7 separate regions of the Homo sapiens genome follow, and regions 1, 2, 3, 4, 5 and 7 are each linked to region 6. The links are contacts of gene promoters, found by promoter capture Hi-C in blood cells and fetal thymus (Javierre and others, 2016). All regions are on one chromosome and are shown on one strand. Each heading gives the region's core, a stretch centred on a gene start or on the middle of the fragment in contact. The rest is flanking DNA. Distances are from core to core; before and after follow the strand shown. Region 1 has its middle 50 kb from the start of LINC02836. Region 2 has its middle 27 kb from the start of LINC02836. Region 3 has its middle 50 kb from the start of LINC02836. Region 4 overlaps CRYBG1 (crystallin beta-gamma domain containing 1). Region 5 overlaps LINC02836 (long intergenic non-protein coding RNA 2836). Region 6 holds the start of PRDM1 (PR/SET domain 1). Region 7 has its middle 81 kb from the start of LINC02836.

What was found. Contacts are between HindIII fragments. The CHiCAGO score rates a contact against its expected background, and 5 or more counts as called.
Region 1: a fragment that was not itself captured here is called in contact with the fragment with the promoter of PRDM1 in region 6 in 1 of 17 cell types (monocytes); the score reaches 6.8 in monocytes.
Region 2: a fragment that was not itself captured here is called in contact with the fragment with the promoter of PRDM1 in region 6 in 4 of 17 cell types (M0 macrophages, M1 macrophages, monocytes and 1 more); the score reaches 9.3 in M0 macrophages.
Region 3: a fragment that was not itself captured here is called in contact with the fragment with the promoter of PRDM1 in region 6 in 2 of 17 cell types (M1 macrophages and M0 macrophages); the score reaches 5.9 in M1 macrophages.
Region 4: a fragment that was not itself captured here is called in contact with the fragment with the promoter of PRDM1 in region 6 in 1 of 17 cell types (activated CD4 T cells); the score reaches 6.3 in activated CD4 T cells.
Region 5: a contact is called between a fragment that was not itself captured here and the fragment with the promoter of PRDM1 in region 6, in 1 of 17 cell types (M0 macrophages). The highest score is 5.4, in M0 macrophages.
Region 7: a fragment that was not itself captured here is called in contact with the fragment with the promoter of PRDM1 in region 6 in 7 of 17 cell types (activated CD4 T cells, M0 macrophages, monocytes and 4 more); the score reaches 8.3 in activated CD4 T cells.

What each region holds. Positions count from the first base shown.
Region 1 is chr6:105,681,005-105,684,214 of GRCh38, reverse strand. No RefSeq gene overlaps it. Among named protein-coding and RNA genes, the nearest start is that of LINC02836, 50 kb to the right of the region's middle. The HindIII fragment of the contact is 2,026 bases long and covers 798-2,823 here.
Region 2 is chr6:105,604,128-105,607,520 of GRCh38, reverse strand. No RefSeq gene overlaps it. Among named protein-coding and RNA genes, the nearest start is that of LINC02836, 27 kb to the left of the region's middle. The HindIII fragment of the contact is 4,818 bases long and covers 1-3,393 here.
Region 3 is chr6:105,581,231-105,584,408 of GRCh38, reverse strand. No RefSeq gene overlaps it. Among named protein-coding and RNA genes, the nearest start is that of LINC02836, 50 kb to the left of the region's middle. The HindIII fragment of the contact is 151 bases long and covers 1,565-1,715 here.
Region 4 is chr6:106,534,489-106,537,608 of GRCh38, reverse strand. The region is part of intron 8 of CRYBG1 (crystallin beta-gamma domain containing 1); the gene reads right to left. Among named protein-coding and RNA genes, the nearest start is that of RTN4IP1, 93 kb to the left of the region's middle. The HindIII fragment of the contact is 1,777 bases long and covers 893-2,669 here.
Region 5 is chr6:105,620,650-105,624,213 of GRCh38, reverse strand. LINC02836 (long intergenic non-protein coding RNA 2836) reads left to right here. Exons shown (of 6, transcript XR_942833.3): 3 at 1,426-1,483; 4 at 2,640-2,726. Among named protein-coding and RNA genes, the nearest start is that of LINC02836, 9.9 kb to the left of the region's middle. The HindIII fragment of the contact is 4,504 bases long and covers 1-3,517 here.
Region 6 is chr6:106,084,728-106,087,894 of GRCh38, reverse strand. It overlaps PRDM1 (PR/SET domain 1), which reads right to left and starts at 1,559. Exons shown (of 7, transcript NM_001198.4): 1 at 1,300-1,559. The coding sequence starts at 1,341. RefSeq lists enhancers at 1,212-1,931, 3,109-3,167. The HindIII fragment of the contact is 5,820 bases long and covers 1-3,167 here.
Region 7 is chr6:105,711,123-105,714,640 of GRCh38, reverse strand. No RefSeq gene overlaps it. Among named protein-coding and RNA genes, the nearest start is that of LINC02836, 81 kb to the right of the region's middle. The HindIII fragment of the contact is 3,567 bases long and covers 483-3,518 here.

The DNA of each region.
Region 1 (3,210 bases), core at 561-3,060, 400 kb after region 6:
AACTAGAAATACCATTTGACCCAGCCATCCCATTACTGGGTATATACCCAGAGGACTATAAATCATGCTGCTATAAAGACACATGCACACGTATGTTTATTGTGGCACTATTCACAATAGCAAAGACTTGGAACCAACCCAAATGTCCAACAATGATAGACTGGATTAAGAAAATGTGGCACATATACACCATGGAATACTATGCAGCCATAAAAAATGATGAGTTCATGTCCTTTGTAGGGACATGGATGAAATTGGAAATCATCATTCTCAGTAAACTATCACAAGAACAAAAAACCAAACACCGCATATTCTCACTCATAGGTGGGAACTGAACAATGAGAACACATGGACACAGGAAGGGGAACATCACACTCTGGGGACTGTTGTGGGGTGGGGGGATGGAGGAGGGATAGATTTAGGAGATATACCTAATGCTAAATGACGACTTAATGGGTGCAGCACACCAGCATGGCACATGTATACATATGTAACTAACCTGCACATTGTGCACATGTACCCTAAAACTTAAAGTATAATAATAATAATAAAATTTAAAAAAAGGAAAACAAAAACAAAATAAAACAAAAAAGAATATCAGCTCTGGTGGCAAGTCTGTTGCTAGAGTATTAATTTTGTTTTTTCAATAACTTTTGTGGGTTTTTGTATAGGTAGTGTGTGACCTATATAGGACTAAGTCTGGTTTTCTAGCAAACTAACCAAATTTATACACCCAAAAGACTATTCTCCTTCAAGGTGGTACTCTTGAGAGAACACATATCTATTCAAATAAAGCTTAGAATATTTTGACGAATGTCTCTTTGAAATCACCTTAACAACTATTTGTCAGCTGTGTAAGGTAATTGACCTCATTTCTTTAAAAACAAAACTTCATATTAATTTTTGAATAGGCAATACACTTGCATAAATGTATATTTAGACTCCAAATATTTGAGGATATTTCAGATATCTTTCTTTTATTGATTTCTAATTCAACCCCATAGTAGTCAGAAAACATTATTTGTATGACTGATTGGAATCCTCTTAAATTTAGTAAAACTTGCCTTATTCCCCAAAATATGATCTATCTTAATAAATATTCTACACTTAAGGAAATAAATATGTATCTGCTGTTGTTAGGTGTAGTGTTGTATAAATGTCAGATCATTTTGTTGATGGCGTTGTTCAAATCTTCTATATTCTTACTGATTTTTTGCCACTTTGTTCTACTAGTTATTGAGAGAAGGTCAGGAGAAATCTATGACTATCACTGTGGATTTGTCTATCTCTTTTGGAAGTCCTATCAGTTTTTGCTTCATGTGTTTTAAACCTCTGTTTTTAGGTGCAGAAACGTTTAGAATATGTTATCTTTTAAACCCTTTAATATATTGTTATTATTTTGCTTTAAACAATTATCTTTCAAAGAGATTTAAGCAATGAACAAGTCTTTTATATTTAGCCACATGGATACCATTTCCAATAATCATCATTCTTTTTGGTAGAACCAGATTTCCATCTTTTATCCTCTTTTGTTCTGCCTAAATGACTTTCTTTTAATATTTTGTGTAGTACATGTCTGCTGGTGATTAACTCTTTTTGCTTTGTAGATGTGAAAAAGTGGGGTTTATTTCCCACATTATTTTTGAAAAATTTTCACTGGGTTCAGAATTCTAGGTTGATTGTCTTTTCTTTTTTTCTTTTTTTTTTTTTTTTTGAGACGGAGTCTCACTCTTTCGCCCAAGCTGGACTGCAGTGGCGCTATCCCGGCTCACTGCAAGCTCCGCCTCTTGGGTTCATGCCATTCTCCTGCCTCAGCCTCCCGAGTAGCTGGGATTACAGGCGCCCACCACCACGCCCGGCTAATTTTTTGTATTTTTAGTAGAGACGGGGTTTCACCGTGTTAGCCAGGATGGTCTCGATCTCCTGACCTCGTGATCCGCCCGCCTCGGCCTCCCAAAGTGCTGGGATTACAGGCGTGAGCCACCGCACCCAGCTGGTTGATTGTCTTTTCTTTCAATACTTTAAAGATGTTTCTCTACTATCTTCTGGCTCGCTTTTTTTTTTTTTTTTTTTTAACAAGACTACTTGCCTTTTTTTTTTTTCTCTGAGTACATTTAATATTTACTTTTTTTCACTGGTTTTAAGTAATTTGATTATGATGTCCTTTATAACTTTACTCATGTTTCCTGTGTGTGGGGATTCTTGGATTTGTGAGTTTGAAAATTTCATCAAAGTTTGAACATTTCAACCATTTCTCAAAATTCTTTTCCTACCTTCCTCCTCATCTCCTTCTGGGACTCCAGTTGTATCTATATTTGGCTGATGCCCTTTTTTGCCCCAGAGTTTTGCTCCTTGTGTTTCATTTTGGATAACTTCTATTGTCAAGTCCACCAATCTTTTCTTTCTGCAGTGTCTAATCTTATGTTAATCCCATCTAATATATTTTTCATCTCATAAATATATTTTCATTTCTAGAATTTTGATTTAGGCTCTTCCATATTTCTACTTAACATTCTCGCTCTTTTCTCTAGCTTCTTTGACAAAAAAAAGTTTGTAATTCACTGCTTCAGTGTTTTTGTTTACTAATTGTATTATCTGTATAATTTCTGGGTCAGTTTCAATTGATTTATTTTTCTCTTTATTATGAGTAATATTTTCCTGTTTATATGCTTGACAATTATTGATCACAGTTAGACATTGTGAATTTTACTTTTCTATGTGCTGGATATCTTTGTACTTCTGTAAATATCCTTGAACTTTCTTCTGGGACACAATTAAGTTACCTGGAACAGTTTGAATATTTTAGGATCTTGCACTTAAGCTTTGTTACATGGGATCATGGCAGCATTTATTTTAGGGCTCTTATCCAATCCTTCTGAGTATTCTAGCTGATGCTCCTAGGATTATGAGGTTTTTCATTCTGAATAATGAGAACAGAAACTATTCCTGGTCTTGTGTAATCTTCAATGAATGTTCTCTCCAGTCATTTTGGGTGGTTCTTTCTCTAGCCTTGAATAGTTTCCTCAAGAGCATGTGCTAATCATTATCCAGGTGAAGATTTAAGAGGACGACTCTTCAGATTTCCATAATATTCTCTCTATATATAACACAGCAACACCTATAAACAAGACTGACTGATTAGACTGTGACTACTTCTCTCTGTGTTCCTGTCTTGGTTTCCCAGAAATATTGACCTTCACCTTCAACTCC
Region 2 (3,393 bases), core at 646-3,145, 480 kb after region 6:
GTAAAACCATGTTATAATTTTACAATACCTTTCATTTGAACATTTCTTCTCCCAGCACTTTTGCATGGGTGTAGATAATTTATGGCTTATTTTATGGGTAGAGAAACTGAAATGGCTAACCATTAACAGGTTGTGTTTTCTCAAAGTTACCCAGTAGGTAATTAGTAGATTTAAGAAAACAATCCAGGACTGCAAATTCCCAGTTTCTTGTTCTTTCCCCTTAGGCCTTTATACTTTAGATGATCCTAAATGCAATGCCATAAGAATGTAAAAAAACCTGTATTAGGTACCCTAAGGCACTATTACCTTCTTCTAAATTCTCAGATAATACCTTAATAGGGCATTTTAATGGCGAGCTTGATAGTTACTGTGTATGAATTTCTTTCCCATTTAATATTGCTCATAGAGTGAGGCAAGAGGGACTCTTGCCCTGGGCCCTTGGCTTTAGAGGACTTCCCATATCATAAGCACACACACTTATTAACCAACAAATGGATACTCAGTCCTGGTATCACACAGCCCAACATCTGACTGTGTGATTAATACTCTTCAGGCCCCAGGGAAACACTGTGGCACTTCTTTCGCCTGATGTCATCAGGACAGAAGGACTGTGACCAAATGCCATGAAGTCTTGCAGGCTGTGCCACTGCTGACAGCTGAGATGGGCGATGCTTTGGGATATGGGGAGTATTAGGTCGCAGGAGCACTTTGGTAAAGAAAAAGACAAATTAATTAACTTGTCAAGTCCTTTCAAATCGCAAAACCAAGTATCACTTCCCAGTAGTGCTGAGCTGCAATTTTCTTGCTCCTCTTCAACTTTGAATTGGTGGTTCCAGAAATATTTAAGAGTTAGTGTGGTATTTACCTTAGTTTCACATGGCGGCTGAGGAACAGTTTACAATATTAAGCACTTTGTGTTCTTTAATTTGTACATATGTATGGTTAAATGTGCCATTAGGGAATCGTGATATTCTTTACTTGAACATAAATATTAAAGCATATATTGTACAGACCTCAATTCATACAGTGGGCCCCACAAATACTATATGTGGATCTGTTCAGAGGTTATTACCTTACTGTGGGGCCTTGGACAGGTCATAACTTCTCTGGGCTTCTGGTTGCCCATTTGTAAAAGAAAAGCATAGGACTAGATGCTCTCTAATGTGTTTTTAAGCTCTATAAATTATTTTTAATTATTCTACTTATTTATAAATAAGCATATATTTCTTATAAGCCTTATATAAACTTATGTAAAACCTACCATAAATCTTATCTAAAACCTACTATAAACCCCATAAACCTAGTATGAAAATATAAACTCTTCTTTTACCTCATGTTGCCTATCCAGCCTCATTTATTCATTCATCAGACATTTATGAGGTACCAACTATATGTCAGATGTGGTGCTGTATTTGGGTGAGAACACAACAATGAATAAGTTACAGTTTATGTGTTCAAGCATGTCATAGACCAGAGGATGCATAATTAGATTACTGTCTTAGTTCATTGAGATTGCTATAACAAAGTATCTTAGGTCAGATAATTCATAAACAACAGAAATTTATCTCCACAGTTCTGGAGGCTGGGAAGTCCAAAATCAAGTTGTCACCAGATTCAGTGTCTCTTGAGGGCTAGCTCTCCAACTCACAGATGGCCGAAGGGGTGAACAAGTCCCCTTGGGCCTCTTTTATAAAGACACTAATTCCATTAATGAGGTTGGAGGCTTCATGACCTAATCACCTCTCAAAGGCCTTACCTCTTAATATCATCAATTTGGGGGTTAGATGTGAACTTTGCAGGGGAGAAAAACACTCCAAACATTGCAGTTACTATGCTCCAATATTCAAGTGCAGTGAGAGCAAAGCCTGCAGGACTAGGGGGCCCACAAGGGGCTGGGCAGCTTACCTACCCTGATGGACAGTGTGCCAGGGAAGGATGTTTGGAGAAGGCAGTATAGGAGTTGAATTTTAATGGATAATCAATAGTTAGGCCAGCCAAGAGAAAGGGGAAAATGTCTCAGGTAGAGAGGGCAACAGAAACGAAGGCACAGAGGTGACAGAGATCATTTAGCATGAGGAATGCAAACCTATTAGCATAGGATGCCCACAGAAGCGTGGGACTGAGCCTGGAGCAACAGGCAGAGGTGACACTGAGAGTCTTAGTTGGACTTCATTCTGTAAGGTGAGAAAAAACTCCAAAAGGTTATAAACGGGAATGACATAATAGGTATGGGTAATATATGGATCACAATTTGACAATGGTCCAAAAAGATAAATTAATGGAAGCCAATGAGAGGGACAATTTAGCAGGGTACAGACATCATCCAGGTGAGAGATCCTAGAGGCCTAGGGTGGGTCAGTGACAGCACAAATGGAGAAGGGGGCAGGACTGGAGATACATTTTGAAGAGTGACATGGACCCATTTGGATGACAACCAAATTCAGTGTCCATTTCTACATTGGGCCATCTGATTTTCCCCATGTGAACAGCAGAAAGAAAACTTTACCAGCTCTGTGTTCACAGATCTATGTCTTTAACATGATACTTACTTATTTTATACATTTGTACAAACACAAACTATTATTTTATTATGATGTGCAAGTTGAAAGAAGAACATGGATACCCTGCATTCCAAGAGGATCTTCATTGATCCTCATCAACTTCGGAAGCTGTTAACAAATTATGTCCAGTTCTCACTTTGTCATTTCTCATTCATCCTAATAGTGCTTTTGTGCAGGGGACGTTTGCACCATTCAACAGGACTCGTGCCATCCACCACACAGGTTTTCAGTTTTCAACAGAGAGAGCCTGTTCACAGCCAAGAATAGCAACAAGTCACTTCAATTTAGGCATCTGCAACTCTGTGTGTAAATAAGTCAGCAGCAGAAAATTGAGTTTTCTTATGAAAGGCAGATGCTTTTAAAATTCAAGGGGCAAGTTCTTGACACAGCAAAGGGGGTGACATTGTCCCGAATTATCTGGAAAGAACTGATGGCTGTTGGCAAGGGTTGGTCAGTCTGGGAAGGCAAGGGTTCCACCAGGGAATCAGCAAGCTGCCTTCAGGAAGCTCCAGAGGGAAGTCAGGTTGCAGTTCCAGCTAGAGCTCTGCTATCCAAACGGCATTTAAAGGGATCTGTGATTTACACAGATTTATGTAAGACTGAAGATACTTTATGAAATTTGTTCCTACAATTACATTTCCTAGGAATTACTAGGGATTAGAAAGTCACTATTCTCAGACACTCTGCCGCATAGTTTTCTGTAAACAGTTTATACAGAAATAAAGGAGAGGGAATGATCAGTTGCCAATTTGTGCAAGCTGTTCTGTGCAGAGTCTCACTATGGCCAATTCCTTGTGATTTATGTGCCAACTGCCTGTAGCCAGCTGGACAA
Region 3 (3,178 bases), core at 391-2,890, 500 kb after region 6:
ACAGGTGTTCCTGCTTCTTCCTATAATTATCCTGGCTCCAGCTATCATCAGAAATGGACTCTTCTAGAAGAAGCAGTACAAGGCCTCAGCTTTCTGCTGGTTCAAGATTCTAGGTGATTAGCAGACACTCCTGACCAATGGTTGTGGTGCTTCCCAAACCATTACCTTAATAATAAGCAGATATGGGACCAATTCTACGGACTCTGGCAAAGATATGCCATTCATGTCCAAATTAAATGAAAAGGCTACGTGACGCTAGCTATCGAATGTATTAGGGATCTGTCCTGGTATTAGCTACCTGCTGTATTAGTTATCTGTTGCTGTATAACAAGTTACACAAACTTGGTGGCTTAAAGCAAACGAACATTTATTTTCTCAGACGGAGTACTGTAGGTTAGAAATTTGGGAGTGGCTTAGCTAGACTGTTCTGGTTGGTGTCTCTCAGGAGGTTGCAGTTGAGATGTTGTCTCTCAGATGATGTTGCAGCTCATCTAAAGGTTGGACTGAGGCTTCAGGATCTGCTTTCATAGCAGCCACTTGCAGGACGAGCAAGTTAATGCTGGTTGTTGGCAGGAGGCTCGTCGCTACATGAGCCTCTTCCTGGGGCCATTTGAGTGTCCTCATCACATGGTAGCTGGCTTTCTCCAGTGAAGAGAAAGAAATTTCAATTGATTGTGGGGCACATGGAAAATGTTTCAAACTTCCATAATGATCCTGGTCTTACTGTTTTGGCCATGTTGCCAAAAATGTATGATTTCCAGAGTGTGACATTCTACTACTAGGTTCTGTCGTGCCAAATGATTCAACAAATGTTCATCCCCAACAAAAGGACAAGAGCCCCTGTGCTTGTGGAGGTCCATACACAGACAGTAAATAGGCGGACTAGTGGCTAATTAATACTTTGGCACAGCTTCAAGAGAACAAGTACAAATATGAGAAAGCAAACAAAAAGTCCTGGGAGATTTCATCCATGAGACAAACACAATAAATTAGTGCTAAACGGCTCGACAAAATATTTGGAGCTCATATTGGTAGTGAGACTTGGCTTCTAAGTAGCCTCAAGGAAGCGGAGACTCAAAGGCTCTCAGCTGTGGATATCAGCAAGTCCTGGTCCATAGCAGCAAGGGTTTCAGATGAATCTTGATGAGACCTCATTTAATAAAACCCTCTGTCCAGAGACCATCAGGAACACACCGGTAGTGTGGAGGGAAAAAAGTGAGACTGATTTAACCTGTTGCAGCAAGGGAAAATACAAAACAAAAGAACCAGGGAATTTGTTGGAAAAAAAAAAAAAAAAGTGGGAGGGGAGCTAAGAGTAGGCTACTGGTAGGGCCCGGGGGCTGGAATTAGTCTATAAGATGATCTTAGCATGGATTCTTCCAAACTTGCTGGAATAGTCGGTGGTCTCTTCTTTAGCCCTTTAGGGCCTTTGCAGAGTTACTGTTTCATCAACCTGACCATGATCCTATCTTGAAACACAGGGATTCAAACAAATAAGTATTACACAATTTTGACCTTAAATCATTTGTCTGCTTCAGTCATAATGTAGATGGTTTTGCAAGCTTTGGTCTCTGTTTCAAGTCTCATCCTCAAAGGATCGCTTTGTATTCCTTCATGTCTTATATACAGGTCTCTAACCAAGGTGTATGTGATGAAAACACCCCTTCTCTCCACAAATGCTGTCTGATTTTACTAACAAGACTCAATCCCAAGCTTGATGGAAAAGGAATGGCTCAAAACTGGATCAATTCTATCATTGCCTTTGCACATAGTGTTTTCTCTCATCATAATTCCACTGCAAAATTCCACTCTTTCTTTAAAACCCAGCTCAAAACTACAACCTTTAAAATGCATTTTCCAATGTCTTACCCTCTTCTCTTCCACATCATCACCCTCGTCATCATCACCCTCTCTGCCTGTAGGGTAAAACTGTGCTTCCTCTTCGTGTTTCTAGACTCACTAGAGTGCTTGGTATATAGCACATACTTAGTAAATATTTTTGAATTGCAGTGGGAGTATCTAATTAATTTGGCAGTAGGTATTGTTAAAATACTTTAATATTCCTGTGATTTCAGCTCTTTATAATTCTCCTCTCTGAATTTCTGTTGCAAAGTTTGGCATTGTTTTCTTTTTTTTTTTTTTTTTTTTTTTTGAGACGAAGTCTCGCTCTGTTGCCCAGGCTGGAGTGCAGTGGCGGGATCTCGAGTTTGGCATTGTTTTCTGACAGTTTCATAGATGTTTATTTTTTTTTATCCCAACTATTAATAGATTATGAGCTCCTAGAAACAGACACAATTTTTTTTATTTTTTCGCACCCTCCACCCCATTCCCATGGCCCCTCAGATTTAAGACAGTTCTCATACTTCCTAAATGTTTGTGAGATTTGATTATCTTTTGAGATATTGACTTATATTGTCTCTGGCATTATCCTCACCCCTCATTTTCTTCCATTCAAGAAAGCAGCTAGCTCCAAACTTGATGGGCTCAGGGAAGGGTTGGGGCCAGGTGTAAGGCAGCAGTAGAGCACCAGTGGTTGTGGTTTTATTCTCTAAAGGCCTAAACACTTAGGTGAATGGAGTAAGTTTGGTAGGTACATGAATGGGATTCCTAAATATAGACGGAGCAACTGGAGAGGTGGGGAGAGCAAGTGATGGCCAGGCCTCCATTTCACTGCCTCCAGCTAAGAGAGATGGGGTGAGAAATGCAGGGAGAAAACAAAAAGAGGTCTGCAGGTCCAGGAGTAGTGTGGACCCAGGTCATGCATGCAAGGCAGCAATTCCGAGGATGTGGCAAACCCTCCAAGAAAAATGGCTACAAGATTCATCTAGCCACACTGGCCAGCAGTGGTCTTACAAAAAGCCCCTGTCCTCATGGCATTGTCTTAAATTTCTAAGCAATGTCCACTGCATTCTTGAGTATTAAAAGGATTGGGGTGAAGATACTAGAAGGATTGAGAATAATAGAGTTTGGAATCTGAAATTAAAGTCTTGTAACCCGAGGTGTTCATGCTTACCTGAATATGTGGGGTTTTATTTCTCCCACATTTGTTTAATTGATTAATCTGTCAGTTATGTAAACTTGAAAAAATAATTGTCTAACACATCTAACAAGGGGGAAAAAAGCTCAGGTCTCATTACATTAAAAGGGAATACATTGCATAATACTGGATCCCAGCTCT
Region 4 (3,120 bases), core at 532-3,031, 450 kb before region 6:
GTACAAATGTTATGCTTCAAAAAAAGTTACCTTAAGGAAAAAAAGAGGCTTATCTTTTAAATACTACTGTAATGCTTCTAAACCACAAGAAAACAGACGCTAAGAATAGGGTACTTTACACTTCCTTATGTTTAAAGCATGACAGCCAAGGATACGTTACATGTATTTTGGAGCTCAAAGCTATCACAGGCACAGTACCCATGGATTTTGTTCTCTAACAAAATAATGGCAGTTCTGTAACACATTATGGTATTAGGCTAACCAAGCAGGTCCCAAGTCTGACTTCTTTACAAGTGAACAGGTTTAATTTTTCAAAAACTGAATGTACGGCTCACGAGCAAGCGATCTGAGATTTTGAAATGATTCTTACCGAAGTACCCTTTTCATTAAGTCTTTCCTTCTATAGCTTGAGTTCAGAGGGGATTTATTCATCTAATACTAAACATTTCACTTCTGTTGAAGCATGTGGTTTAGTTGCATAACATTCATGGAAGGAAAGTCATTCTGGGTAGAGGGGAATTTGTGAAAAAACCGAAAACATGAATGAATGCATTTGAAAAGACTGCTGTTCTGAAAGTTCTCCCTTAGTAAATGAGTGCTGAAGGCCTGCTGGGTAATTCAAACAGACATTTATTAATGCTGGGTGGACTTTGAATTTGAAAACTCATATGCAGAGTATGATTCACTTTTTCTAAATTCTGTTCCAATAAGATACATTATTTATGAGGCCATCAGGAGAGGGGGAAACTATCTCCAGGCAGGGTTATTTCAGTTTCTAAAGGTAATCTTTTATTTTCCCATGTACTTGGGTCATAAGCTTTCGCCAATATAGATTAAAAAGTACAACTTTATTGTCGTACTTAACAAACAGTATGATTATAAAGCCCAAGCTTATTTTTTAAACAAACAAATGTATACCTACAAATGAATATTGTTAAAGTAATAACAATGGCCATCTATATGTTTATTTAAAATATTTGTCCAATTACTCTTTTAGAAATACCCTTTGAGTCACACAAGAAAAATCAGTCTTATCTTGTTCACTTGCTCTTAAACAAAAACAGCACTTCCAGATGGATCTTAAGTTGTGTTCCCTAGACATGGCTGTACATGAATATTGGCCATTCACAGAAACCAACTGGATACTTGAAAAATTAAATATGAAGGTACTGACTTTGAGGTTATTCACAAGAGAGGGGGCTATGAATGTCAAAGGGGAAAATGAACCTTTACAATGGAAAGATGGAGGAGGCACCACTTTAACCAAGCAATCAAACTTGGTATTGCTAAAGGGCAAGCTAGTTAGCACATGCCACCTGCTGTGATACAACATAAATATATGGCACTATCTATATGAAGTATCCGTGCCAAAACTGTTTGGCCTGAACCTAACCATACCTTAAGACCTAAGCCCTAGTAGATAGGAAATTCGGGCAACAGAAGAACATGCTAAATAGTAGCATGAGGGAACACTCAGACAAATCTAGAATGTGGCACACTCTCTAAGACAGCTGGCCTAAATCTTTTTAAAAGTTAGTGGCTCACGCCTGTAATCCCAGCACTTTGGGAGGCCGAGGCGGGTGGATCATGAGGTCAGGAGATCGAGACCATCCTGGCTAACAAGGTGAAACCCCGTCTCTACTAAAAATACAAAAAATTAGCCGGGCGCGGTGGCGGGCGCCTGTAGTCCCAGCTACTCGGGAGGCTGAGGCAGGAGAATGGCGTGAACCCGGGAAGCGGAGCTTGCAGTGAGCCGAGATTGCGCCACTGCAGTCCGCAGTCCGGCCTGGGCGACAGAGCGAGACTCCGTCTCAAAAAAAAAAAAAAAAAAAAAAAAAAAAAAAAAAAAAAGTTAGTGGCTTGGGAAACAAAGATGGGGTATTTTAGAGATCTTTAAAAAGAGACTTAAAAGAGACAGAACAATCAAACGCATTTATGTGAACCTTGATTGGATCCTGATTTGAAAATGCAAATCTATAAGAGACATTCCTGAAGCAATTGGGAAAATTTGGTGATGGACTATTGAACAGATATTATCATGGACACTTTGTGAATTTTCTCAAGTGTAATAATGATACTTATGCAGGGGAATACCATTAGAAAGAGAGTCAGGCTGAATCCTATGTGGAATGAAGGGTCATGATATCTCCAATGTACATTGAAGTGCTCAGAAAAATAACACAAATATGGTAAAATGATAACAATTATTGGGTCAAAGTGAATGGTACATTGGTGTTCACTGAACTATTCTTCCTACTTTTCTGTATGTTTGAAAACTTTTATAATAAAAAATTGGGCTCTGATATGGTATATTCCACAATGAAATATACAGTGACTATTACACAGCAATGAAAAAAATACATAGAGATGTACCCATCAATATGAGTAATCTTAGGAGTGTGGTTACATGTGTAACCACGGTGGGCAGCAATGTTGGTAATGGTCTAGGTTGTAAGTTGGATGGTGGGTCCACGGGGGATTGTTTTATTATTGGGCTTCATAGTTCACATATATACATATATTATTCTGTATATGTCAAATATTACACAGTACAAATGATCAAATAATGTTTGTCAATTAAAAAAGAAGTCCCTTGACTTTAGAACACCTGCATTCTAGTACACATTCTGCTAACAGCTAACCCTAGTCTGGAGAAAGTGACCAAAGCTTGTCTTCCTCAGTCAAATGATGGTGTTGGGCCAGATCATCTTTATACTCCCTTTGAAGTTCTAAACTTCTTTGCTTTTGTTCGTCATAAATATACCACCCCCCACTTCCACCCCTACACACACCCCGCCCCCAAAAAACCCAATATGCTTTCACCTCTGGGAGGATGGGTGCCAGGATTAGCCAGCTGCTTAAAAGAAAGATTTAAAAACAAATTACTCTCAACAGAATCTGAAAGGCAAGTTTAGTTAGAAATCACTCATTTCCTCAAACAAGAATTTGACCAGACAAGTAACACCCTTATTTTGTGTATGAGTAGAAGAGCTTAATCTAGAGTGAATGGGCCCTGGAATAAATCACCTAATGGATTCTTAAGGAGTTCCCTCTACAGCAAAGACTTCTTATCCCAGTTCAGGGGAACCAGTGCATCAACAGAAGCAAAATGAGCTTCAG
Region 5 (3,564 bases), core at 16-2,515, 460 kb after region 6:
TTTGCAATAATGTCTTATCTGTCTATGAAAGATAAAGGGGTCATCTGAAGTGGCAGAGACCTGAAATGTTAGTTCCAAGAAATTTTGTTGCTAGTTTTTATTATTCTTCTCTGGATGGAATGTAGCCCCACAATTAAGTTTGCTATCTGACTCGGGTTTTATTTCACTTCATTCTCAACCCATCTAGAGTAGTTTGTAGATTAGTTTTTGTGTTTTGGAAAAACAAAGAATATTGGAAGATTCAAATAAGGCTTTAAGGAAATTCATCATTAATTTGGTAAATAACATCTTCCTAGAAAGAATGTTTAGCTTTGGCCCTTTCAATATCATCAGTTTTAGGAAGTGTATTATCTAGTTTGGTAGCTCAGTTGTAACTAATGTCTTCTATAATTTCCTCTTACTCACATGCCACAAAGATATTTCCCTGGAGCCTCAATGATTTCACCCCTGGATATAGATGGTAAAGAAGAGAGTAGTACAAAATGAAGCTGAAGAAACAGGCTGTGATCAGATTATGACAGGCCTTGAGTTTTGGGCTTTATTTTGCGGACAAAAGGGAATTTGAGGTACAGAATAGTGTGAGGGAAAGCTAAAAAGCATGAAGAGAATGATGTTAAGGTTTGAATTTCAAGGCCATGGGAAACCTCTGAAGCATTTTAAGCTAGCAATGGTGGACTTGAATATATTTGTATTTTTAAACAACAAAGATGTTTGCCTTGTGAAGGAGGTTGAGGTGGGAATGTGGAGAGAGAGAGGCTAATTAAGAATATGGCCTGTGATGGCCCACATGAGAACTGGTAGATAGTAACCCGGTTTAAGCAAAGGAGATGGTGAGGATAAAGGTCACATTCAAGAGACAGGAATATTTCCTATGTAGGAAATAGGATTCCATGTGATTCTGAGTATGAAGAGAAAGAGGAAGAAAATAAAGATAATACCCAGTCAAAGAACATAAGTTATTTAGAAACTGGGTATAACTGATTTAAAATCAATGTGATTCTGAAAACGGTGGTCTCAGTTGGTTTCTCTTATAATATCACACCCACCACGAAGCTGTGCACACAAGACACCATCTACAAATTATGTCGGCTGGTAGCACACTCTCCAAAGGAAGGCACCGAGGGTGCTTCCAAAAATACAGACCCACCTCATCTGCAAATGTTTTCATGGCAATGGATGACTTACCCTATTTACAAAACTTAATCTACCTGATTGGTATTATTCCACAAAGATTTGATCTGGCGGGCAGTGAATCCAGGTCCCTCAGCTTTTCCTTCTCTATATGAATCCTCCACCAGATATTTAGTAAGACAGTGACATGCAAGAAAAATCATCATTGAGAACTTTGGAACACAGTGGGAGGTTTGGTTGAAGATGAGTTTATAACAGCTGTGGAGATAAAACTGTAAACATTTACTTTTTCAGCTCCTTCCTGTCCTTTATTTCCATTGATAAGAAAAAGCTGTCTGTAACTGATTTCCAGGTAAATCTTAGGTTTAAATCCCCACTTTATTTTTCCTTTTACTCATCCCGGAAATAAAAAACCATCACAGTTCAGTTCAATTCCTATACGTGTATAGCTCAACTTTTTGTTCCTGTTGATGACATTTCATGTCTAATGATTAAGAAAAAGTAATGGGCATATATTTCTTTGACAATCTAGTAAACAAATCAGTTGAAAAACCATGCCCTGTCTATCTCAACTGTTGTTAACATTGGGTCAAAGTACAGGAAGAAAATGAACCCTTCTTCAAATTCCTGCCCTGCTTAGCAAAATCTCAGTTTGGAGAGAGCATATTCAGGGTAAGCCCTCTGACTTGGTTTATATCCCTATTGGCACATCACGAGATATTGGCCAGGTTGCTTAACTTTTCAGCATGAGCTCCCGTATCTGCATAAGGGGCATTTGATGGTGATCATCCCTTTAGCAAGCATTTATTAAACGTCTATTTTCATGTATCACTGTACTAGGTACTATACCAAGATGCCTACCCAAGAGAGATATGGTAAAAAAATCTATGAGATAATGAAAGTAAAATGTTTTAATGTCCTTGAAGTAATGAAACTATGCCAAGCCAAGAGATTATGAATTTAAAATTTCATGAGAGTGAAGAAGGACTTTCACAGTTTTCATAACTTTAAAATTTATTTAGTTGATATGGAGATCGGGATTAATCTCAACAGAGAAGAGTTAGCATTGCACAGAGAAAACTGTTCAGGACCGAGAATATATGTGCAGATCACAGAGTCACAAAGGAGGTCAGGATAAAGAGAAAGCGCCAGGATAATGGGCTGCAAATTTATCATAAGCCCTGGCAAATAATGACATAATTTTGAACAAGATCATTGAGTATAAAGAGTACTATGCTAAACAGATTAATATTTGGCCTTTCTCCCTGCTGGTCTGTCCTGGGAAGCTGAACCCTATAGGCTTTGTTACCCAGGGTCCCGTGACACTGGCTTACATTGAAATTTGTCCAATGAGCAGCACCAGCAGGAGATCGGGGTGGAAGGAGATAGCAATCAGAGTATTTCTTCCAGGGCTCCTACCTTCCCTGGGTGGGTCTCTGACAGTGGCTGTAGCCTCTACTAGCTTACACTGGATTCAAGCAGCACTATTTCCTCCTCTTGTTCTTTAGGCCGAAGTACAAGAACAGCTTCCCACTGTCGCTAGTCTCTGGGTGCCTCAACATCCCTTGTTTGTTTCTTTAACCTGCTTGTAACCTGTAAGTAGGCATTTATCAAACTGTCTTTATGGAAACTTCTGGGGTGGATTTTGTTCTTGCCAGGATCCTGACTAATATATAATATTATAAAATATTTACATAAAGTCCAGAAAGATCCTCATGTAGACTCTAAGATATTTTTCACATGAAAAACAAAAACACCCAAGTTTTTTAATCAATCTCCCCACAAGATGTCCCAGAGATGTTTGGATTTTATTTCTTTGAAGCTCTAGAAGGTCTCACACAGGAGCATCAATATCCTCTGATGAAACAATTTTTAAGCAGAAACTCATTATGAAAATATCTTAGAAAGGGTGAGAAACCCCAGAGGATACTTCATGCATTGTTCTTTTCCTTTACGTGGTTGATGACGTGCATTTTAAGTCAGAAGAAAGGAAAACATTCAGTAATTCTGGCTTTTCTTAGGCAATAATGGGTTTTGCAGGTCTGGGGACAGGATTTTATCTGAGGGGTTAGAGTGTACATGGATCAGAGCTTTGTGTCACACACACAGAACACAATGAGGTGTCAGCAATCTGCAGTCTGGGAGGATGCTCACACGATCCAGCATTGACATTTTGTGACTCACTTTACCTCCCCTCTGCTCTAGTAACAAACATACTACCAAGTGGGGAGCTATAAATGAGTCCATTTCCTGCAAATAAGATTTTAATGAGATTCTTTAGCTGGTCACACACCAACGTGAGATAATAAAAAGTTGATTGTTCATCTCCTCCCCCCAGCGCTAGTGATAGTCCATGTTCTTGAAACATACCAAATTTAATTAAGCTTACAAAATTATAATGGGACAAAAAATTAGGTCAAAATAAGTCTGTCT
Region 6 (3,167 bases), core at 310-2,809:
AAAATGTTCTGGGCACACAGTCCAGTGTCCCAGAATGCCTGGGGTCATGGCCGCCAGACCCTCGGCACTGTGGAAAAGCTGCCTCAGAAAAGTGTCACAAACAAGGAGAGGAAGAGGAAGGAGCTCTGTCTGCCTCTGAATGAAGCTAAAAATGGAAAGCGCGTGTGGTGCAGGAGCGGAACCCAGCCTGCCTTTTCCAAATGGGGAAGACCGAACTTTCCCACCAGCTCCCAACGCAAAACAACTTTCAAAACAACTGCCTCCTCCCTCTGCTGCGAGCTCTCTTTCATCCTCTCACATGGAAGACTGAAAAGGGTTGCATCCTGCCAGCATCACTGAGCTACGGCCTCTTAGAAATCACTTGGACCACAGGAAAAGAGGAGGAAAAATGGGTGAAGGGGAAAACAGCCTGCAGTGTCTTCTGACTTGCAAGCATCTCATACCAAATTGAAAAGGCAAAAACAAAACATAAAACCGTTTAATAAAATTCCCTGGAGAGAATTCCTTTAGGAGTCCTCAGCTACAAATAGCACTTTCCATTTAAATCTGAAAGTGTATGAATTCCCAGAAGTCACTGATGTACTACAGTTTACTGTAACTAAAGTTATAACAAATTTAGAAGACTTGGAGGACAAGCTCTGCTTCCACTTGTACATTGATGAGGATATTCCCCCAAAATCCTCCCTCACACTCAGAAAAAAACTGTTTTCCAAAGGCAAAAAAAGGTAAACAACTTCTGTAAGGGTTTTCTCATATAGACATGTTTGATAAAAATGAGGAATATGGGTATCATTTCCATGTAAGAATGTGTGTTTGTTCAAATGTAAACATAACATTCTGTGGAAGTCCTTCAAGGAGGTTTTTACATTCTTCCACTTCTCTAAATAGGATGCTCTTAAAAAAAAAAAAGTTGGATGCAAAGTTGTTTTTCCCTCAGTTATGATTTAAGCAAACCTGCTTATTTTTATTTAGTTCCAACATGTAGAGTCATGACGCCAAACACATGTTAAAAATAAAATAAAATAGAAAACTTCAGCCAACCCGGAATAGTTTGACGAGTGTGAGCTGGAACCACTACTGAAATTTCAATGAATTGGCAATTATGTCTAGAACTGAAAGGGTTAATGATTCATAAGGAAAGTCTCACAAATGTTTGACAGCACTAAGTGCACTAAAGCAGAAGCATGTTTCTACTGCGACATTAGCCAAAAAAAATTAATAATAATAACAATAAAGGAAAAGAAAATAAAGTTTTCAGATCAATTTCAGAATTAAAAAAAAAAAATTCAAGTTCCTTACCAAGGTCGTACCCACACGTTTTTCCAAGCAAATATCCAACATCTGAGAAAAGTCTCGTTCATCTCTACCCAGTCCACATTCTCCCCGCGTCCCCCGCCAGGCTGAGCCGCACAGACGCGCACCTCGGCGGTCCCTCCTCGCTTCGTCCGGCCGCCCGGGCGCCCGCGTCCCAGCTCCGGGCGGACAGGTGCCGCGGTCGCTGCTCTTGCCTCTCCGCAACACTGGAGGGCCGAGTGTCACGGCAGCACTTTGTCTGTGTTAACCGTCTGGCTTCCCCTCCCTGCTTAAGATTTCCTTAGCCACTCGGCTGCGCGAAGTGGGGGCGTGGCCAACGTGGCCAACACCACCTGGCCGAGCCCAGGGCTTTCCCCCAGATTGCTAGCACAGCCGCCGAGAGCTTCCTCTCTTCGCATGTGTATTTCAACATTGACTTGGAATCTTCTTACTTCCCTTTGAAGGCACTTAACCTCAACGCTTACTTGGGCTCTATTGTATTCTAAACACTCCAGATCGCCCTCCTTCCTGGCGCGGCAGAATTAGGGGGCGCACGTTCCTTAAATTAAGGAAACTTAAAATTTACCTACACAGTTTCTGATTTCTCAGCTCAAATCCCCAGGTACAAAAGACACAAATCTTACTTCAAAAGAGCAAGTTAAATTGTTTTTGCAGCTAGTGTAATACAGTGGAGCTGTCTGGTCCTCAAGCTGTTGTGTATGTAACGCACGTTTCCCCGCCCCCCGCCCCAAAAGTTGTAACATTCCGTTTCTCCTGCTAACGTTCAAACTTGGCAGAACTAACTTTCCTCTTTTAACTATTTAGTAAATAGGGAAATAGGCAAAAGTTATAATTCTACAGATTGTTTGTTTTCCTTTCCTCTCCTCCCAGAACCCACAGGCTGACTTCCCAGGAGTGTAAGTAAAATGTAGAGCATTAGTCGTTTCACAGTTCAGAGGAATATTGAACTGATCACTGCAAGTGGAAAGCGGTCGGAGGCAGTAATTAGTGGGGCTTATTCTGAGCCCCGGCCAGCTTTTCCTCCAGCCCAGTCAGTCCTCTGTTGAAGGAAGGACATCCTGTGATGATGGCATACAATGTCCTGTTTGTTTATTATTAAGAGCGTGGACCTTGCATTCCTGCTTCTCATTACAAAACAAACCAGATGCTTTACTTCCTTCAATGGTCTTGTGCCTTCAGCAAGGAATCCTTTAATTCAGAGAAACAATGTTTATAGCAAACACCCCATTTCAATTATTATTTAGATCATTGAAATCCAGGTCTTCCATTTTTCCTGCTTGCCTTACCATAGGTAGGTTTTTTTAAAATCATTTCTCCTTCGACCTGCAATGTCTTTTCTAACATTTTAAATACACGTGTGCACACACATCCACCCACACACACACCCACATACACACACCCAGTTCCAACCTAATGATACCAACTTAGTCATACAATGAAATGGACATCTGAGTATTTGTTTACAGGAAGAAATGAAACAAAGCAAAACAAAAGCCCAACTCAATCCTAAAAAATATGTCTGTTTATCTTTAAAATTTCTTTTCTCACTTTTAGAAAACTTTTCTAGAATTTTTTTTAGGGGAGAGGGGGAGAGGCAAAAGATTATTTGCCAGGAAATGGTGTCTAAAGTCTTGCTGCAATCTCTCTCTCAGTACAGAACAATTAAATTCCCACTAGGGGACATGATTAGCACACACTCGCTGCTTGCTGCGTGGCCCACCTGTGATTGCATGTTATGCCAGAGGGGACGCTAGCACCAAGAGGAAGCAGGACTTTTAGAAGGCAGATCTGCTGGGGGTGGAAAACTGAATGAACAATTCCTAAGAGTCCTCAGAAAGCTCCAAGCTGATAAT
Region 7 (3,518 bases), core at 1,017-3,516, 370 kb after region 6:
CTCTTAATGAATTGACCCCTTTTTTATTATGAAATTACCTTCTTCATCCCTGATATAATTCCTTGTTCTAAAATCTACTTCATACAGCCACTCCAGCTTCCTTTTGATTAGTGTTTTCATAATGTATCTTCCTATTCAATAACTTTTAGCTTATCTGTGTCTTCATGTTTATGTCTTATACAGGGCATATAGTTGGGTTTTGCTTTTTAATCTGATAATCCCCTTTAATTCGGGTGTTTAAACTATTATATTTAATCTAATTATCAATATGTTTGAGTTTAAATTTAACATATTTTTTCTTCTGTCATTTCTTCTCTTTGTTCTGTTTTTTCCTTATTTCTCCAAATTTTGTGGAGTTTAGTTTTTATTTAATTTCCATTTTTTCTCTGCTATTGTGTTATTAGCTATATTATGATAAAGTAACCACTTTATTTCACTATTTTAGTGGTTACTTCAGGGTTTACAATATACATTTTTAAGCTTATTACTGTCTACCTTCAATTCATGTATAGTGTAAGACTCATAACAATGCTTCTATTTCCCCACTTTTGTGTTATTGTTGTCATACATTTTACTTTTATCTATATTATAAACTTGACAATTCATTAGTTTTGCTTTAGTTAATTCTTTTTAAAGAAGTTTCAAACTGATAAAAAATGTTTTCTATTTATGCATATTTTTACCATCTCCAGAGCTCTTCATTCATTTGTATTGATTTAAATTAACATCTGATATAATTTCTTTTGATGTAAAGAACTTTCTCTAACATTCATATAGAGCAGTAAATCTAGTAACATTCTCTCAGGTCTTTTTGCTAAATACAGAATTCTAGGTTGATATATTTGGGTTTTCTTTTTTTTTGTTTTCCTGTGCGGTTAGATGTCTTTCCATTGTCTCTGGCTTCCATAGCTTTTGAAGCAGTCTGCTGTATTTCTCATTTTTGTTTCTCTGTTTGTAGTGTGTCTTCTGGACCCCCTCCATCCAGATTCTTTTAGGATTTTCCCTTTATCACTGGTTATCTTTTTTTATTATTATGTGTCTTGGTGTGTTTTTCTTTATATTTATTCTGCTTGGGGTTTGCTGAGTTCTTGAACTTGTTTCCAGTTTTCATCAAATGTGAAAAATTTTCAATCATTTCAAAAGAATTAAACTTTTGTGTTCTCCCCTTCTGGAACTCCATTAACACATACATTATACTTCTTAACATTGTCCCTCAGATGATTGTTGCTCTATTCATTTTTTTCCCTGTGGTTTTTTGTGTTTTTTTTTGTCCTTCATGTTGAACAGTCTGTATTGCTTGTCTTCAAGTTCACTGATTTTTTTTTCTTTTCTGCAGTATTGAATTTGTCTTTGATTTCATCTGATGGATTTTTCATTTAACATATTGCATTTTCCATCTTTACAATTTCATCTGAATCTTTTTTTTTTTTTTCTTTTGAGACTAAGTTTCACTCTTGTTGCCCAGGCTGGAGTGCAGTGGTGCAATCTCAACTTCCAGCTCACTGCGAACTCTGCCTCCCGATTCAAGCAATTCTCCTGCCTCAGCCTCCTGAGTAGCTGAGATTACAGGTGCCCACCACCATGCCTGGCTAATTTTTATATTTTTAGTACAGACAGGGTTTCACCATGTTGGCCAGGCTGGTCTTGAACTCCTCACCTCAGATGATCCACCCTCCTGGGCCTCCCAAAGTGCTGGGATTACAGGTGTGAGCTGCCACACCCGGACTCATCTGAATCTTTTTAAATATCTTATGTTTCTCCTCACTATGATTGTACTTTTCTCTACCTTCTTGAACATTTGGAGCACATTATAATAGCTGTCTAACATTTTTGTGGGGTAGTTCTGTCGTTTCTGGATATATTTCAATTTGATTAGTTTATCTTCTGATTATGGGTCTTGGTTTTTGTTTTGTATGCCTGATAATATTTTATTGGATGCCATACATTTTGAATTTTATGATTTTTACTTCCAGGTTTTGTTTTATTACTTTAAATAGTGTTGGATTTTGTTTTTTTGCTAATGAGACAGATTAACATATATTTCCATTAAAATGCCCTTTTCTGTTTCATTAAGAATACAATTACTTATTCAAACCTATATATATAATGTCATTAAAATACGCACATATATTTAAAAGATGTATATATATAGGGCAACCTTTAAAGACATGCATGTTTAAATAAATTATATGTCTTATTCAATATATTTGATTACTTTTTGTATCTCTAAGTTTTTGTGTATCTATCCTTTCATGTGCAAGAGAGAGAAAATATTTTTTTAAAGCAGTAATTGATTCTAGCCATGGCTGACTCCTAATGCAATTACATAATTTGTATTCGAAATAGATTTTTTTTTTAGTGAATCCAATTTATTGGCCCCTTTGAATGTAGAAGTTAAAGTTTTAACTACAAGTTCAGTAAGGAGAGAGTGACATAAAAATATTACTTCACTCATTCATTTATTCACTGAACAAATATATAGGGAATGCTTATGTTTACCAGGTTCTGTTTCTACATTTGTAGGCCCTGAGATATACAAGTGAAGAAGACAAGACATTCTCTACCCTCATGACACTTCGATTCTAATAAAGGGAGACAGGCAACAAACAAATCATTTTTAAAATAAATAACAAGATTTCTGATGGTGGTAAGAGCTCTGGAGGAAATGAAGGGAAGGGAGAGCAACTATAGATAGCTAATTCAGTGATAGCCCTTTTGAGAAGGTGACATTTGAGCAGACACTGAATGATGACAGAGAGAAGAAACATAAAGAATATACACGGGGGAATAGCAAGGATAAAGGCCCTGAAGTAGAATGAGCTTACTGTATTTAAAGAATAACAAGCAAACTAGGGCAGGTAGAGCAGAGTGGAAGATGATGAGGTCAGAGAGGCAAATGGGAGCCAGAGCATGTAAGACCTTGCAGGCTGTGGCAAGGAGTTTGCATTTTATTTTAGGTGAGACGCTAGTGGAGGGTTTGGAGCAGGAGAGTGACACAGTCAGACTTATGTTTTAAGATTACGTTGTAGCTGGCTATTGTATGACCAATAGACTCTAGGATAGGGAGGATGGAAGATGGGAGATCAGTTAGATGCTTTACAATAGATCAATCCAGAAAATTGAAATTATTTACATGTAAAGTTAATAGGCGTTTGAAAGGAGGAGGGTGGAGAAGATGAGTCAAGGAAGGGAGGACTGACCCATTAGTCAGGAGACTGGAACTCATGAGAAAAATATCTAGTGAGAAATAGCAACTGTTGAGATTCCCAGTGTCAGTGTGTCTGAGGGACATTTTAAAACAAGGCTGTCTACTAGTCCATTTCAAGTTGTTTGTGGGTCTATGATGTAAGCTCACTCTACTATCCCAAGCCTTAGAAAAAGTTTGCCGCACATACTGTCCTGCATTGCTAGTACTTTGAGGGTAGAAAGAAATCAATCTTGTGTCCTGTGCAATACCACATAGCATAGGAGAAGGAGAGTGTGCAGAACGTGGCAATATGCTTCACAGGGAAAACTAA